5 separate regions of the Homo sapiens genome follow, and all the other regions are linked to region 1. Evidence: promoter capture Hi-C in 16 types of primary human blood cells and fetal thymus (Javierre and others, 2016). All regions are on one chromosome and are shown on one strand. Each heading gives the region's core, a stretch centred on a gene start or on the middle of the fragment in contact. The rest is flanking DNA. Distances are from core to core; before and after follow the strand shown.

Region 1 (3,447 bases), core at 545-3,044:
AGGTATGCACCAACACGCCTGGCTAATTTTTGTATTTTTTGGTAGAGATGGGGTTTCTCCATGTTGGCCAGGCTGGTCTTGAACTCCTGACCTCAGGTGATCCGCCTGCCTTGGCCTCCCAAAGTGCTGGATTACAGGCATAAGCCACCACACCTGGCCTCTGACATATTTCTTAAAAAGATATACACTTGTCCTCTTAGATGTGGGCTTCACTTTCATTCTCAATTATAGCTACTTATCTTGTTCCCAATCTTAGCCCCTTTCCCTAATCCATCATCAGTCTTTCATTGTCACCACTTTTATCATTACCTTGCTTGAGATCCCATAACAGTTCCCACACATCTATATGAAGTCAAATCAGAATTCCTGTCTGGCTTTCAAGGCACTACTGTATTTGATCTTATTATCTGATCCTATCCAGGTTCATTTTCTACTACTTCAGTTCTTCCCCAAGATCCATCGACATTAGCCTTTCCAAAATCCAACATTCTGCATACACTTCCTCTAAGGTTTTGTATACAACATTGGGGGGTGGGGGGATGGGAGTGAAGAAAGTTCCAGTAGACAATTCTTTAAGAGGTTAAATGACAGCCCTATACCCAAACATGCACCCCCTACTCTAGACAGATGATCACTCTACTGTTCTCCCTGCCTTTTTATTCACCTTATCGCCAATTAAAAACACTTCTCTACTCCCGTTTGTCTCAGTAAATCTTATCCATTTTCCATGTGCCATCTCCTCAGAAGTTTTCCTGAGCTTGGCAGGGCTAGTTCTCTTGACAATTCCACTTGCAGTTGTGGTTCACAGCACACAAGTAAAGCTTTGTTGTTTCTCTTGTGATTAGTCCGTGAAGGGGCTCTGACTTGATCACTTTTCTACATTGCCACCAATACCTAAATCCAACCGCCCCAATGCCAATACTTAGCCAGTGTTAAGCACGTAGTGTTTAAACACACCTCAACACGCAAGTATTGTAAGATAATGACCACACAACAGGGCAAATACAAAGTTAAAGCAGGTCCGGGACCAATACAAAGCATCTTTACCAATAAAATGCCGTGATGACGCTGTCACCCATTCCGGATTCACGAATCATTCTTCAAAAGTCCGGCTCCAAAACTATGTGGAGACTGAAATCCCCTGAAGAAAAAAAAAAAAAACCGCCAAAATGACAGCTAAGACAGAGGCCAGACTAACCCCTGGCCCTCCCAAATTCCCTCTCGCTCCACAAGTGGGTTCACAAGAGACACAAACGCACCCAGGAAGACCTCCGCTCCCTCAGACGCGGGGCGGGCCCTGCGACTTCACTCTGGGAGGGACATTTCCGCTCACCCAGCTCTGCGACCCTCGCTCCTGCGGAGTCAGCTTCTGCTCGCGGAGGGGGAAGGGCAAAAGGACAGTGCGTCCCAACCCGTCCCTCTCCAGCTGAGCCTGTCAGAGACCAGCCCAGCTCTGAAATCAAGCCGTTGAGAAAAGGGAATTCGGCCCTCCGCCGCCTCTTCAGTTTAAAATCGTTTCCCGACTCGCTCTGCGGCCCCACGCAGGAAGCCTCCTTGGCGCCTCGCCGATTCCGTATCAGTGAAGCAACTAAAATTGCCATTTTAACTGAGGGCAAGGCCGAGCCACTTAACCACTATCGTCAACCTTTCCAATCGTGCTCGGTTGCTCCTCAGTTTTCCTACCGGTGCGAAGCTTTCTCTCAAATTTCCGCCCGTAGTAGGCATGGCGGCGGCACCTCACCACTGATTCGTTGAATTCCTTCCCGGTAATCTTGGGCACTAGCGGGCGGAGTTGAAGGGCGCTTGGACCCCAGCGGCGATCTGTGTTTGGGTTCGCGCTCTGGGAGAATTTTGGCTTTGCTCGCCTTCCTCTTTCAGAAGACTCGAAATCGGCCAGCAGGTCTGCGAGATTTGAAACGCGACTGTTACTCCTTGTTTTCCGGTTCTGGCCGCGGGAGCCTCTCGAGAAGCGTGGAAAGAGGAGAAGGGCGTATACCTTGTGACCGCCTCTGGTTGTCTTGGGCTCGCGCCTGGCGCCGCTACGTGGAGTCGCTCTCTCGTCGTCACTTTTGGCTGCCGACTTGTTGAGTAGAAGTGCAGACTGATGCTTTAAGACTCAGGGAGAGGTCTTTCCCTTATCTCCACCCCAGCAAGCACCCCAGAGACCTTGGAGATTTGTCTTGTTTCTAGACACGTGTACTCCAATGTTGTGCGGAGGAGGCCTTAAATATTCGAGAAGAGAGTGGGAACTCCTGGAATTTTAAGGGATTTCTGTGTATTTCCAAAACTGACTTTTAACTACCGGCAGCGTGGGATTTCGTGATTGTTTTTCGCCATCGTGTGGCTCCAACATGTACTTCCCTTCTTGGTTAAGTCAGCTGTACAGGGGTTTATCCAGACCCATCAGAAGGACCACCCAACCGATCTGGGGTTCTCTCTACAGAAGTCTGTTGCAGAGTTCACAGAGGAGAATTCCAGGTGAAAATAGCGAAGAGATCTATCCTATGAACAGTACTTCAGCCTGTTATCTACGGCCGGAGAGCTTTTATTCCATTTTTCATTTTTTCCCCCATTATTATTATTATTATTATTATTATTATTATTATTTGAGACGGAGTCTCGCTCTGCTGCCCAGGCTAGAGTGAAGTGGCGCGATCTCCGCTCACTGCAAGCTCCGCCTCCCGGGTTCACGCCATTCTCCTGCCTCAGCCTCCCGAGTAGCTGGGACTACAGGCGCCCGCGACCACGCCCGGCTAATTTTTCTGTATTTTTGGTAGAGCCGGGGTTTCACTGTGTTAGCCAGGATGGTCTCGATCTCCTGACCTCGTGATCCACCCGCCTCCGCCTCCCATAGTGCTGGGATTACAGGCGTGAGCCACCGCGCCCGGCTTTTCCCCTGTTCTTAACTGGATAGCCTTATGTGTAGAAGCGAAATTCACTCTCATTATATTCATTATACGGCAGTTTTTTTTCCCTGAGTTTTTAGAAAGACCACAAAAAGGTAACCACGTAATATATAGAATACTCTGCTTTTGGTTGATGCCTTAAAAAAATCCTTCTTCGGCCGGGCGCGGTGGCTCACGTCGTTAATCCCAGCACTTTGGGAGGTCGAGGAGGGCGGATCACGAGGTCAGGAGATCGAGACCATCCTGGCTAACACGGTGAAACCCCGTCTCTACTAAAAATAAAAAAAAAATTAGCCGGGCGTGGTGGCGGGCGCCTGTAGTCCCCGCTGCTGGGGAGGCCGAGGCAGGAGAATGGCGTGAACCTCGGAGGCGGAGCTTGCAGTGAGCCGAGATCGCGCCACTGCACTCCAGCCTGGGCGACAGAGCGAGACTCCATCTCAAAAAAAAAAAAAAATCATTTTTCACAGAATTATAATAGTGTTTTCTAGTGTACAAGTGGCTGTTAAACACTAGATTCATACTAAAGCTAAATAGTTCCTAC
Region 2 (3,447 bases), core at 342-2,841, 950 kb after region 1:
CAGGGGATACAGAGATGACATTCTGTGTCCTGAAGTTGTCACATCTAATAGGGGAGGCACACAGACATAAGAATTCAGTGTGTTTGATCCTGGGGTTTAAAAGGGATCTTTGGGAGCCTAAAGGCAGAATGCCAAATTCATTCTGGGAAACTAGTAAACATTTTCCAAAGGTGGCATCTAACCTGAGAATAGGACATGAGGGTGAGAGTGAACAGCATGTAGAAGAGGAATGAGGAAGAATGGCTGAGGCAAGTCCTTTGCCATGGCACATTTGAGGGGGATGCGCAGGATACGATTCTGAGGGGCTTTAATTACATTTCTGCCATCAATTTATTGTGGAATTTTAATCAAATCATCTAACCTTTTAACACTTAATTTCCTAACTTATAAAATAAAGAGACAGGGAAGCATGCTCTAAATTTATGTCATGCCAGCTGTGTCAATCTGTGCTATAGGTGTGTGTATATGTGTGTATGTTTGTATGTCTTATATAACCATTTCAGTCCTTTAATGAGTAGATAAGAATCTTTGTATAATTTGCATGTTTGTTGTTTAAGTGCTTGGCTAAATTTATCTTTGCCTCTTTTACAAAAAAAAAAGTGTTTACAGAACAATATAATAAAATTAGGAGCAAAGGAATATTTTATTTGTTATACTTCAAGATGAATACCACCAAAATGTTTTCATTTCAACTTAAAAATCTCTTTATAACCATACTTGAATATAAACAACCCATTTGTTCTACATTAGTGAAATGTTAGTGTGTGTATTTTCTAGCACTCACACCTCTGCACTGTGATCATTCTATCAGGTATTTCTAGATATCCAAGCAATGTGTTGGATCTATGTAAAAAAAATCTGACAGCTACCATCAATAACAATATAATTGTGTAGCATTTAAACAGTTTGTAATGAGCTCTCAAATGCATTTTTTAAATGTTTAATAAATAAAATTAATAGTAAGACACCTATCATTTATTGAGCACTTAAAATGTATCTGATGCTGTGCTAAGCACTTTAAAACTAATCTTCACGGCCGGGCACATTGGCCCACGCCTATAATCCCAGCACTTTGGAAGGCCGAGGCAGGTGGATCACGAGGTCAGAAGTTCAAGACCAGCCTGGCCAAGATGGTGAAACCCCATCTCTACTAAAAATACAAAAAATTAGCCGGGCCTGGTGGTGGGTGCCTGTAATCCCAGCTACTCGAGAGGCTGAGGCAAAGAATTGCTTGAAGCCGGGAGGCAGAGGTTGCAGTGAGCTGAGATCACGCCACTGCACTACAGCCTGGACGACAGAGTCAGACTGTCTCAAAAAAAAACAAAAAACAAAACAAAAAAAAATAACTAATCTTCACTACCTTTAATTTTGTTTATTGTAGTATAATATACGTAACATAAAATGTACAATTTTGGTCAGGGCAGTGGCTCAGGCCTGTAATCCCAGCACTTTGGGAGGCCAAGGTGGGTGGATCACCTGAGGTCAGGAGTTCGAGATCACCCTGGCCAACATGGAGAAACCCCATTTCTACTAAAAATACAAAATTAGCGGGTGTTGTGGCGTGTGCCTGGCTACTCAGGAGACTGAGATGGGAGAATCGCTTGAACCCGGGAGGCGGAGCTTGTGGTGAGCTGAGATCGCACCACTGCACTCCAGCCTGGGCAACAGAGCAAGACTCCATCTCAAAAAAAAAAAAAAAAAAAAAAAAAGTACAGTTTTAACCATTCCTAAGTACACAGTTCAGTGACATTAGGTAAATTGACATTGTTGTGCAACTATCACCACCATCCATCTCCAGATCTTTTTTTCATCTTGCAAAACTGAAACTCTTGCACCTGTTAAATAGTAACTCCCCATTCCTTTCTCCCCTTAGCCCCTGGCAGTCACCATTCTGCTTTCTGTCTCTATGAATTTGGCTACTCTAGGTACCTCATGTAAGTGGAATTATATCGTATTTGTCTTATCTCTGGCATATTTCACTTAGCATAGTGTATGACCCTTAATTTTTTTACTGACATTAATTAAAAGAAATCCTAATTTTAACAATAATTCTATTACTGTTAATATTGTATTACTATTTTATCAGTGATTCTATTACTGTTAATACTGTATTGACTTGTTGGTATGAATCAATATGCTCATTTTACAGATTAGGAAACTAAGACTTATAAAAAGTTAAAAAACTTGGTTAAAGTCATTCAGTTAGGCAAATGACATACCACAATCACAACTAGGCCTGTCTTACTACAGAGGCAGTGTTCTTAACTTCTAAGCTATGGGGTGTGTGTGTGTGTGTGTGTTTATTTTAAACCTTACAATTGCTCTGTGAACAAGAGATTATATCCTACTTGATACTCAAATCCCAGGCATGGCGACATATGCCTGTAATCCTAGCTACTTGGAAGGCTAAGGTGGAAAGATCACTTGAGCCCATGAGTGCAAGACTAATCTGAACAACATAGTGAGACCCGTTATCTAAAAAGTAATAAACAAATAAATAAATAAAAGCCAGGTGGCTCTCACTAAAAATTCCATGCCTTTTTACGTTATACAGCAGGAGACCCTTAAATTATAGTGAAATCAGTCTCCATTCCACAAATCTATGTTGACATCATACTATGAGTGAAAACAGGTTTTTTAATTCAAGTTGTTTGAATTAAGCATATTCTATTGTATGTTCAAAGATAGTTGTCCCAATTTAAAAATGTCCTTGGTTGAATAGGATAGAAGCAGAGCCAGAGCAACCAAGAGCCATTGCTATATGAACAAATAATTGAATTTAGGCTAATGAAAATGAACTCACTGTCAAAAATCATCATGAAATTAAAATATTCTCTGCTCTTGACTGGCTGGAATAATATTTGATTCCTGAGTTCTGCCTTTCCACTTATTCTGTCATAATCTTTGAGATATATGAAGTCATCCCTGAATACTGTTTAATGCTCTGGTTAAACTCCATTTCACTCTGACCAATCAGAGTATGTGAGCTGATCATAAGGAGCTATTATCAAGAGACTTGTCAGAGGATTCACTGCCCAATATGTTTTTATGACCCTTTTTATCTGTAAGAGTTGCTGGTATTGCTTTTTAGAATGAAATAGACTAATTTTGTCCATTACAGTGTTGATAGTTTGATAACTCACTGTGGGAATCAATTGATCTTATCAGAATAATATAACCAGTAGAGGAAATGTAACTGAAGCATATACAGTTTTATTTAATATATTGTTTATGCAGGTTGAGAAAAGGCTGAAATATGCTCCTTTTGCTAGAAATGTAATAACTAAAACGCCCATAGCCTTGATCTTTTTTATCTTTTATTGCTTTTCCTTGACTAAGAGAATTTGGTTTTGGTAAAGCTAAATGAATTTAGAATAAAGTCATTTATTTGTGTCATACGTAAGCTTGATTAAGAAGGTTTTTATGGCCAAGAGCCATGGCTCATGC
Region 3 (3,447 bases), core at 651-3,150, 920 kb after region 1:
AATTACTCATGACTAAACAGATGCATTCATGTTAAACTTATCTCTCATCCCTACCCATTCTTGAACTCTTTCTCATTCACTAGTCATTTATGAAAAAACTGTATAACAAATAACTATAATAAAATGGAAAATATATAATTAAGCTAGAGGAAAGGAAGGGTGGGAGTCATCCTTTTTTTTTGGTATATGTTAGTAAATTAATAGTAAAAATAAGGGAGGACTTAGCCATAAGGGTTTTAAAACAGCATGTCTCAATTTGTATACAAGGCTACTATGTTGGTCTGTGAAATACGTAAAAAAAAAAAAAAAAAAAAAAAAAAAGCGATTGATTTTCAGTGCTGCAATCCTGACCTCTAGTGGACATTCAGAACAAAACCCAAACATCACATTCTTTTATTTAGTTACTCCATCAAGCACCATTAGCCAACCTAAAATATTAAACTTTCAAAGAGATTAAAACATGAGAAGCAGAATAAAGTAAAAGAATTTTTGGCTAATATTCTAAATATTCTTGCTGTAGAACCTGTATTTAAGAGCAGCTAGTATTAACTTATTTCTTTTTGCGTGTTAATTATCTGTCACTTTCACTACTTTCTTTGAAACAATGCATTGCTTTATAGATCATAGCAGCAAGAAATTTATCAGAGAAGCCAAATGGATTTTCTTTTGATTACCTGTAATATATAACAAGCTATACGAAAACTGAGTGGCTTTAAAAGGACAATGATTTTTATAGTGAGACATATAGTGATGTTATGTAACCTCCTGATAGAATGCACTGAGAAGGGCACAGCATCACTTCTGTGGTATTTGTGCCCAAAATACATATTCTGAATTTAATCATAAGGAACCAGTAGACATATCGAGTTGAGGGACATTTTATAAAATAACTGGCCAATACTCTTCCAAAGCATCAAGGTCATGAAAAATAAACACTGAAAACGGTCCCATATGAAAGGAGACTAAGGAGACATGACAACCAAATTCAATATATAATCCAGAATTGCATCCTGGACCAGAAAAAGGGCATTAGTGGAGCATTTGATAAAAATAATAGTTTCTTGGTTTTGATCATTATACTATGGTTATGTAAGATGTTAATGTTTGGGTAAAACTGAGTGAAGGATATGTAGGACTTCTTGGTACTGTTTTTGCAAAGTTTTTCTAAATCCGAAATTATTTCCAAGTGAAAAAAAGTAATTAAAACCAATCATTTATTTTCTTACAATCTCATGAGTCAGAAATTTTGGAATTCAACTGTGTGGTTCATCTCTGATCCACTTGGCATCAGCTGGACCACCTGATTCACTTCCAGATGACTTCTTTACTCACATATCTACCACTTTGGTGATTCTTGGTCTTTCTTCTTTACTGATGAAATCTGGTTCTCCAGGCCTTCTTTTGATTGCTTGGTTCCTTAGAGAGCATGGGAGTATAAGTATAATTGCACTTCTTATATGGTAGCTGGCTTCGAAAAGTGAGTGCTCCAAGGGACTGAACATGAAAGCTGTCAATATCTGAAGGCCTGGGCACATAAACTAGCATGGCATCACTTCCACCATATTCTACTGGTAAAAGCAGTACCATAGTCTGCCCAGGTTGAAATGAGAGAACAGAGACCTTAACTCTCAATGGAGAAGCATCAAATAATTGTGACTCTTTAATCCATCACAGATATCTAACAAAAGTCTCACTGAGTTGGCACTCAAGATGGAATTAGTGGAAAAAAGCCTGGATTTGCTTTAGTCTGATAGACCTGAGTTATAGCCTGGCTTTACCATTTACTAACAGTGTTCTGTCTCTGAGCTTCAGTTTAGCCATCTCTAAAATGGTGGCAATAATACATATGCCATAGAGCTGTTGAGAGGATTAAGTGAAAAATATAAAATACTGGATATAATGGGCAATAAATACATGAACCTAATAATAATAATTGCTAGTGTTTATCGAATATTTACCAAATACTCAGTTCACTTGATGTATGCTATCTCATTTAGTCATTATCTCTTCCTAGGGTGGTATGTTTTCTTTTGTATGGGTCAGAAAGGACAGAACCCCATTTCCTCTAGCTTTGTCTGTGAACCTGCTCCATTTACTTTGGCCATTTTTGGTTTGATAATTTGGTAATTTGGTTTATTGACTTGTTGTTAGGATTTCCATTATTTCCCTTTTATTTTGATTCCTAAGAACCCAGGTGCTGATGCACACTTGGTACTTTTTGACACTACCTTTTCAGCATTTGTTCTCAGTGCTGTCAGCTTAAGTTTTTGACAGCTTCTCACACAATCTGTCAGCTCTCTCTGAACCCACGATTGCCTGCTTATCAGAGCCAGAATGTTCAGTGTCTTTGTTTCAGTGAGTGCTCTACTGTCAGCTGTTATTTTATGCAAGATTGTGGGTGCTTAATCCTTGGCCTACCCAAGAACATCATGATCTGCACTTTGGAGCAATTATTCAATTTGGGGCAATTACTTGTAGGTGTTCTTTAAAGCAAAGATGATGCCAGAATGTAATTGAATTTTGAAATAGCAGTATCCAAATCAGTTAAAAAGCTACTTCGTCATGCATGCAAGGCTGATCTCAATCTGTTGTCATTAGAGGAAGGTGGTGACCCTTTCTTCCCACAGCAAGTTGGGTTTTTGTTGCCTCATATACTGCAAGCAGTCAGCTACTTTTTTTGAGTGTTTTCAATATGGAAACAAATAATAGAATTTAGTTCTGGTAGAAGTCACTTATTTGTTATCTTTTTACTCTCTGCTCTCAAAATTTACTTGCCTTTAAATGGAAAGAATCACTTTAATCCTTTAGGAAGTAGAGGACACATTAAATAATATCCAAATAAGAGATTTATTCATTCATTCACATATTCATTGAATCATCTTCTCTAACTTAATTGTTTAGAGTATCACTTTTGGAATTAGGTTAAAATCCTAGATCTGCACTTATTAGCTATTGGACTTAGGAAAGTTACTTTGATTTCTCTAAATCTTGATTTCCTTGTGTATAAAATGGAATTTTAGGTGGTTGTGGGATGAAATAGGGACATGCCTTTAATGTAATTAATTCATATCTTGGCACATACAAAATACTCAGTAGATGTTGGTTATTATTTTGCATTTGGAGTTAGACCTTGTACTATAAATGATAAGTGGCCATAATATGTTTACTTATTTTTTACTCTTAATAATTCTCCAAACCTTTGACTCCTACTACGTACATGTTTTCCCCTTAAGAACAAACAAATTGCTGGGGATTACATATTCCTAAAAATGGGAGGCATCTTGAAAATGTATGAGATATTTTGCTTTTAAAAATACATTTCAAGGCTGAGTGTATTGTCTCATGCCTGTAATCCCAGCATGTTGTGAGGCCAAGGCAGAAGGATCACTTGAGCCCAGGAATTGGAGACCAGCTTGGGCAACATAGGGATACCTCATCTCTACGAAA
Region 4 (3,447 bases), core at 453-2,952, 620 kb before region 1:
TGAGAGACTGTTACTGCAAGTAGTACATTGAATAATACCATTCAACCTCCCTGCTACCCGTCCATTCTAAAAAACGGTTTGAGTTTAGGTTTTATTGCACCATATACAGGGCCAGATTAATATGCATGGGGGTCTTAGAAGCTAAAAATTGTCATCACCCAACACACAAGTAATTCAAAATATGTTTTACATTACTAAACTGTAAAATACATGTTTTATGACTTATTTTATATCTCATTAAGATGCTTTCCTTTGATGCATGTTTTGATGTTCTTTATCATTTTTGTAATATTGTCATTCCATCTTGATCTTTGACACTGTTTCACTGGCTTTCTAGGATGAAGGTCTGGCTGCCGCTGGGGAGCCCAGCCCTGAGGCTACATCACTTAAACTCACTGGAGCCCTCACTTCCCCACCTGTACAATATAGTACTTTGGGAATGAAGGCTCTCTAACCACAAGATCTTATTAAATTAGTATAAGAAGAATTAAAGTTCAGATTTGTTTGTCCATCTTTCTGTCAAGAAGCATGTGTTCTTAAATAGCATTTGCATGTTATCAAGCTAGGCAAACTTATAAAAATTAAGGTGCATTTCAGAATGAAAGGCCTACTGAAAAAAGATTTTAGTTATGCCAGGAATATTCCCCAATGTTTCTAGATTAGTGAACCAGATGATATGCCTCTTATAAATCTAATTTCCTGCCTTATTTGGTAGCCAAGTCATTGGAGAATTGGATGAAATATATCAAAATAAGAAGAAACGGAAATAGCCTAAGCCATGTGCTCTGAGTACGTAATTTTAGATCTCTGAACCACGTGCAGACACTGAACCTAATCACACTTCATAACCTCATAAATTCTCCCCTTCATTCTTTTGCTCTCTAATGCACCCATGAAATCTTAATTAGAAATCTATGTTTAAAAATAATAGGACTCTTCCAAGGTGGATTTTTTAATCCTAAAAATTACATTGGGGAAATCAAGGTTCATGAAGTTATGGTTAACATTAACTTTGATATGCTTTCTGAGATTTGAGTTACAGTGTGTGTGTATGTGTGCACACACATACTATAAAGTCAACATTTTAGTAGCAGTATGTTAACGGAAGCATGTTCATGGATAATGATAATAATAATCTTAGCATTTACAAAGCTGTGTATCAATTAATCCTCACCACAACCAAATTCCAGTCTTGGAAATGATTAAACTGATGCCCAGGGAATTTCAAGAAATTTACTTGGGGTCAAGAGGTAAAAGCCTGGACTGAAAAATTCTGGTTCCTGGCCCAGGGCACTCCCTTTATACTTCAATGAGTCCTCCAAAATCTGAGATGATGTTTTATAGCTTTGTATAAGCAAATGTTTTAATTCCTTTGTTTGAAAAGATTGGTTATCAAAAGCATGGGTGATTACAAACGAAATATACAAAGCATAGGATGGTAGAAAATTCAGTTTCAATCCAACTCTACCATGTATTTCATTAGTGACTATGGAAACATAAACCTTTCCACCTACAACTCAGCTGGGTTATTTTTCCCTCATTAAACAGTAATAACAACACTGTATGTAGCTCCTCTAACCCAAATGATGCAAAAGGATTAACTTTCATTTTCCATGAATGGAGAATCCCTGAAGTGGGGTAAGCTGTCATTTGAGAGAGAAGTAATTGCTATATATATATACATATATATATATACACACACACATACACATATATATAAAAGAAGAAGAAGAAGTGGAAGGCCAAGGTGGCCAGCCCCTAAACAAGGCTGGGTCTACTCAGTACTAGTAACCAGCAGCTGAGGTCAGAGAAGAGGAACAGAGAGATTGTATCCCTAGATCTATACCTAGAGCCTTTTGGCTTGTTTCCCAACTCTCCTCTGTGTGTGTATATTTGGATCTATATGTGCATACACGTGCAATATTTTCCAGCATCATCCCCATCCAAATTATTCTGTCCTATTTTGAATACCCAGATCAAAACATATATCTAAACACTTCATTTAGAAAATATCATCACTCTGCAAATAGTGAATAATATTAGCTGCCCCTGATATTGTTCATTCTCTTATTTGTGGATGAGCACTTGACTGCCTGAGAAGTTTTCTAATCAACTCTTCAGGAAAAGAGGATAAGCTGTCTTCAGACACAAGAGAATCGTTACTTTTACTGTGGTGCCCCCTAGTGCTGTTCAGATTAGACTCACTTTCTATATTTGCCAAAATACAGACTACACAAGAGAAGCAAAATTTGGAGAGGTAACAATGTTGGTAATTTTTCCTGTATTTCCTTTGGCGTAGGAGAGAATGAAGCGTGTTCCTTTAGCATGATTCACAAGATCCTTTGTGAACTGCTCCCCACCTCCCCAGCTTTTCAGCTTCATCTCCACCACTTTCCCACAGGAACACTCAACTTGAGCTATTCAGAAAAACTTGCTGTTCTGCCTAGTAAGCCTTCTACCCCTACCCACCAATTCCCATCCGCTTGTCTGCTTAAATAATTTATCCTCCTCCTTCTAGTATTAGCTGAAGCATTATCTCCTCCTGCAGGTTTTCCTGACTCCCCAGAAGGCTGAGGCAGCCCTCCCTCCTCCCTCCTCTCATCTTCCCATTGTCCCTTGAGCATGTCACTCTTTTGTCCCCACCCTGCATCTTGACTGTGAGTGTAAATAGTTCAAAAACCTTCTCCAATGGATGTTTATATCGCCAGTGCCTCAAATGGTACCTAGCACAAGTAAACACTCAATGGAAAAAAATCTGTGTAAGGATGGTTTCATTGATAATAAGAAGAACCATAGTGTAGGAATCAGGAGTTCTGGTGAATTAACCAGCTAAGTGGTCACGAATGGTTCACCTACCCTCTCTAGGTTTCTGTTTTCTTATCTGTAAATAGACTATATCTAATACCTGCCCCCAAATTCAATGATTCTATATGTTTAATACCTCCTTTAGAAGCCTCAAAATGCCTTATGACAAGCCAAGTCAACTTCAGATGTTAATTTTTTAATTCTCAAAGATTTGCTTATGAAAAGCAAATTCAAATGCCTTTGAAATTATCTTATTTGCAGGTCTATTGTTAAAAAAGAACTTCTAAAAACTTTCTAAATGACATGGAGACATTTAAATTAAGCTAATCTGAAACAATATTTTTTTCAGGCAAACTCCTCTTTCTCTTATTAAATGATACAAAGAAAGGTCCAAGTTGTAGCCCGAAACTTCATTAAGAAACTGTGAATTCTAATTCCAGCTTTCACTGATACAGAACTGGTCAACTCACTTTCTAAGTATCTCTACTTCTGTTGTTCCCAGCTGAAAAAAAAGTGATAAGAACTGAAAAAAAGTGATAAGTAGGAATTGCTGAAAAAAATCACTAAAAGCCTTCAGGTCTTTGAGCATGATGATAAAGGTGATATGAATCTTGGAAAAGCCAAGTTTCAATGGTTTCAGTG
Region 5 (3,447 bases), core at 434-2,933, 570 kb before region 1:
TAGTGTCTCTTAGAAAGCTACACTCTGGTAGAGCTAAGTGTTCTGTTCCTTGTGATGTCATTCTTTTAGCAGTGCCACACCCAGTACACCACAGGGTGGGAGGACACAAGAAAAGGGCAAAACTCAGCTGGGCTGTGAAGTCAGTGGGTGGACCTGGGCAGGGCACTCATGACTTCTGGAAAATAGCCTAAGTCTACCTAATTCCCAAGCACACAGTATATTAACAGTTCATGTGCCAGGACACCACAGCTTCCTGCCTTTAGCAGCAAGACTACACTCAGTACCAACACTTAGTATTAAATCTGCCTAAAGCCTTAGTAAAAATGGAGATAATAATAGTACCTGCTTCACAGAGTTCGTGAGCAGGAAGAGATAATGCATCATTAACACGAACCATAGTTCTTGACACACAGTCAACACTTAATAAATATTGGGTGATACTGGCAGTATCGATGGTAGTCATACTGATAACTCATAAGAATAATATGTTCTATTTCCCCCCATGGCACATGTTTACCTATGTAACAAACCTGCACATTCTGCAAATGTACCTCTGAACTTAAAATAAAAAAAAAAGTTCCTGAACCTCTTAAATCTTCAAATGTGTACTTTTCCAAAGAAAATTTAGTGCTGAGCATACTCCCTGTTCGTCAGTGCACCTGAGAAGCCATTCGATAGCTAACTATCCTATATATACGGCATCTAGTGACTAAATTGAGATCTTTATTTTAATCTACTTGTTTATTTTTATTTGTTCTATGAAAACTTTTAAAGGTTTTCATTAATTTTACCATTTAACACATTAATAAAATGTAGGTGAATTCTTAGTTTAACTTATAATTTAGCTCATCACCCTGAAACAAATTTCAATAAATTGAACAGATTATACTGAAAGAGAATATAGAAATAGAGGTTAAGAGACAGAAAATCATGTCTTATATGTACAAAGCTACCAGCCATACTGTCTTATTCATTTCAGTATCTCCAGTTTCATTTTTTGTTTTTTTGTTTTTTTTTTTTTTGAGACGGAGTCTCGCTCTGTCACCCGGGCTGGAGTGCAGTGGCGCCATCTTGGCTCACTGCAAGCTCCGCCTCCCGGGTTCACGCCATTCTCCTGCCTCAGCCTCCCGAGTAGCTGGGACTACAGGCGACTGCCACCACGCCCGGCTAAGTTTTTGTATTTTTAGTAGAGACGGGGTTTCACCATGTTAGCCAGGATGGTCTCGATCTTCTGACCTCGTGATCCGCCCACCTCGGCCTCCCAAAGTGCTGGGATTACAGGCGTGAGCCACCGCGCCCGGCCTCTCCAGTTTCTTAACACAGATCTCAATAAATATTTTTTGGAGGATTGAAGGGAGAGAAGTAGTATGAGATCTGGGGCTTTTAAGATCAAATGTCTATTGAGAGACTAAACTCCTTAGGAATCTCACCAGAAATAATATAACTAATATAATAGGAAGACTAAAATTATGCATAGGTGGCCTGACAATGTTTCTCAAAATGTAGTCCCCACATCAGCACCATCCATGTCACCTGGGAACTTGTTAGATATGCAAATTCTGAGGCCCCACCTAAGACCTATTGAATCAGAAACTGGGGATGGGGCTAAGCAGTCTGTCTTAAGCCCTACAGGTGATTCTGATGAACACTTAGGTTTGGAAACGTTTGAAAATGAAGGCACAAATACAGTCCATAGATACTATAAAGCCGCCAGGTGTTTAATATGGCAAAAACTAGGCAGATGTGTGCATTTGGTCAAAATAAAAACAGCTTTGCTCCCAGAATTCTACCTTTGCCTGGCATACTTCACACCATTTAACTGCAGGTTCTGTACAGGCATCTAAATTTTCACTTCTTGTTAATTGCCCAAGAAAGAAATCTGAAAAGAAATCTTGTTACAGAAAAAATTGAAGGGAAATTGAATTAATCTTTGAGCCCCTTGATAGCAGAGACTGATCTTGTTCATTATTGAACCCCCATTTTCTATGACAGTGCCTAGCACATAGTACTCAATACCTATTTGGTGAATAGATGAGGCAATCTCACATGTGGGAAGGGCTGACCAAGGTGGGCCCTCAAGATGTCTGAAAGGGGCCAGGGGGAGGGTATGTGAGGAAGACATGGTTTCAGTCCCAGTTCTAGCCCTTGCAGCTGTGTGACCTTGCAATAGTTATTTAATCTAAGTGTTATTTTCCTTATATGTACAATAGGGATGGTAACAGTTTCTATCCCATAGAGGTATTCTAAGGATTAAAAGGGAAAATACATATAAAGGACACAGCAGAGTACCTGGGAAATTGTCAATAAGTGTTAGTTCTTATGGTTATTGTGATCATTTTTGTGGTTTTTACAATGACACTACTGTGGAGGAGTCAATGCTTAAGACTAAGGCCCCTGTGTCAATTGCCATTATAAGGATTTGTGCCTACCCTATATGGCAACCTATTTTCCCTGGAAAGAAACACAGGAACGTGTCCTTTGTTGAAGTCCTTTCTAGAAGACAGAGAATTATGATTGGAAAATAAGGTAAATGCCCTGTTATTGTGTGGCTTGAATTTTAGGCAGGTTTTAGTTGGCTAACTAGATCAAATGTTTTATGTTAATAGATGGTTTTAGTTGGCTAACTAGATCAAATGTTTTATGTTAATAGATGGTTTTAGTTGGCTAACTAGATCAAATGTTTTATGTTAATAGATAATACTGTCAAAATACTGATTCTTCCACTTTTTATAATAGTTCCAGTCCTCAACTCTCATGATAGAAAGAAAAATAGAAAAGAAAGGAGGGAGGGAAAAAATAAAGTCTTCCAGAAAGTCTATCTTACAAGGTAAGTCCAATTTTCAATAATTATGTTGGAAGAACGCTTAACAGCTTAATTTTGGATCTCTTGATATAGCTTCATATAATCTTCATACAAATCTAATCAGAGATGTGAAGCTCTGATTGTTGAAATTATTAAAATACATAATTATTTGCTGAAATTAAATATAGGGAATTCCTTAAGGAGCCTTTCCACCATTTTTCTCTTCCTTTGAGATAATTATCTGTGCAATACTAGATATTAAATGGTTACATACTCACTGCACTTCTGCCCTGAATCTAGGTTGGAAGAACGTTTACTTGCCTTGCATAGGAAATTTCTCAATGTCTATATTTACTGCAGGTTGGCTTGGACTACAATTAGGGAACAACTGTTCCCACCAAAGTAGGATGTGTGGTTCATAACTGTGAAGAACCCATGCTGAAGGCTGATAGAAAGCAGCAACTCAGACATCAGGGGGAGCACTGATCAGGAGTGAGAGCAAGAGAAATTTCCCCAAATGAACAAGGAACTGCAGCAGACTTTTCACAGAACACCCTGGTAATAGAAAACTTCCATAGAAATTTCTGGTGAAAATTATACTTACGATGTATTTAAGAGTTTGCAGATGAAATGATTACAAGCTT

What was found. The method cuts DNA at HindIII sites, captures the fragments that hold promoters and counts their contacts. A CHiCAGO score of 5 or more calls a contact.
Region 2: a contact is called between a fragment that was not itself captured here and the fragment with the promoter of DARS2 in region 1, in 1 of 17 cell types (neutrophils). The highest score is 7.0, in neutrophils.
Region 3: a fragment that was not itself captured here is called in contact with the fragment with the promoter of DARS2 in region 1 in 1 of 17 cell types (neutrophils); the score reaches 9.8 in neutrophils.
Region 4: a contact is called between a fragment that was not itself captured here and the fragment with the promoter of DARS2 in region 1, in 3 of 17 cell types (naive B cells, megakaryocytes and total B cells). The highest score is 7.6, in naive B cells.
Region 5: a contact is called between a fragment that was not itself captured here and the fragment with the promoter of DARS2 in region 1, in 1 of 17 cell types (M2 macrophages). The highest score is 5.1, in M2 macrophages.

The regions. Positions count from the first base shown.
Region 1 is chr1:173,822,879-173,826,325 of GRCh38, forward strand. DARS2 (aspartyl-tRNA synthetase 2, mitochondrial) reads left to right here and starts at 1,795. Exons shown (of 17, transcript NM_018122.5): 1 at 1,795-2,478. The coding sequence starts at 2,352. CENPL (centromere protein L) reads right to left here and starts at 2,005. Exons shown (of 6, transcript NM_001387287.1): 1 at 1,334-2,005; 2 at 1,048-1,141. RefSeq lists enhancers at 1,282-1,521, 1,499-2,017, 1,752-2,311, 2,018-2,535, 3,177-3,447. The HindIII fragment of the contact is 2,471 bases long and covers 1,692-3,447 here.
Region 2 is chr1:174,770,884-174,774,330 of GRCh38, forward strand. All of the region lies in intron 18 of RABGAP1L (RAB GTPase activating protein 1 like), which reads left to right. Among named protein-coding and RNA genes, the nearest start is that of RABGAP1L-AS1, 180 kb to the right of the region's middle. The HindIII fragment of the contact is 3,621 bases long and covers 1-3,402 here.
Region 3 is chr1:174,743,797-174,747,243 of GRCh38, forward strand. All of the region lies in intron 17 of RABGAP1L (RAB GTPase activating protein 1 like), which reads left to right. Among named protein-coding and RNA genes, the nearest start is that of RABGAP1L-AS1, 210 kb to the right of the region's middle. The HindIII fragment of the contact is 4,626 bases long and covers 1-3,447 here.
Region 4 is chr1:173,200,377-173,203,823 of GRCh38, forward strand. All of the region lies in intron 1 of TNFSF4 (TNF superfamily member 4), which reads right to left. Among named protein-coding and RNA genes, the nearest start is that of TNFSF4, 5.2 kb to the right of the region's middle. The HindIII fragment of the contact is 4,156 bases long and covers 1-3,447 here.
Region 5 is chr1:173,249,456-173,252,902 of GRCh38, forward strand. All of the region lies in intron 2 of LOC100506023 (a long non-coding RNA gene), which reads right to left. It also overlaps a transcript of TNFSF4 not described here. Among named protein-coding and RNA genes, the nearest start is that of TNFSF4, 44 kb to the left of the region's middle. The HindIII fragment of the contact is 3,518 bases long and covers 1-3,442 here.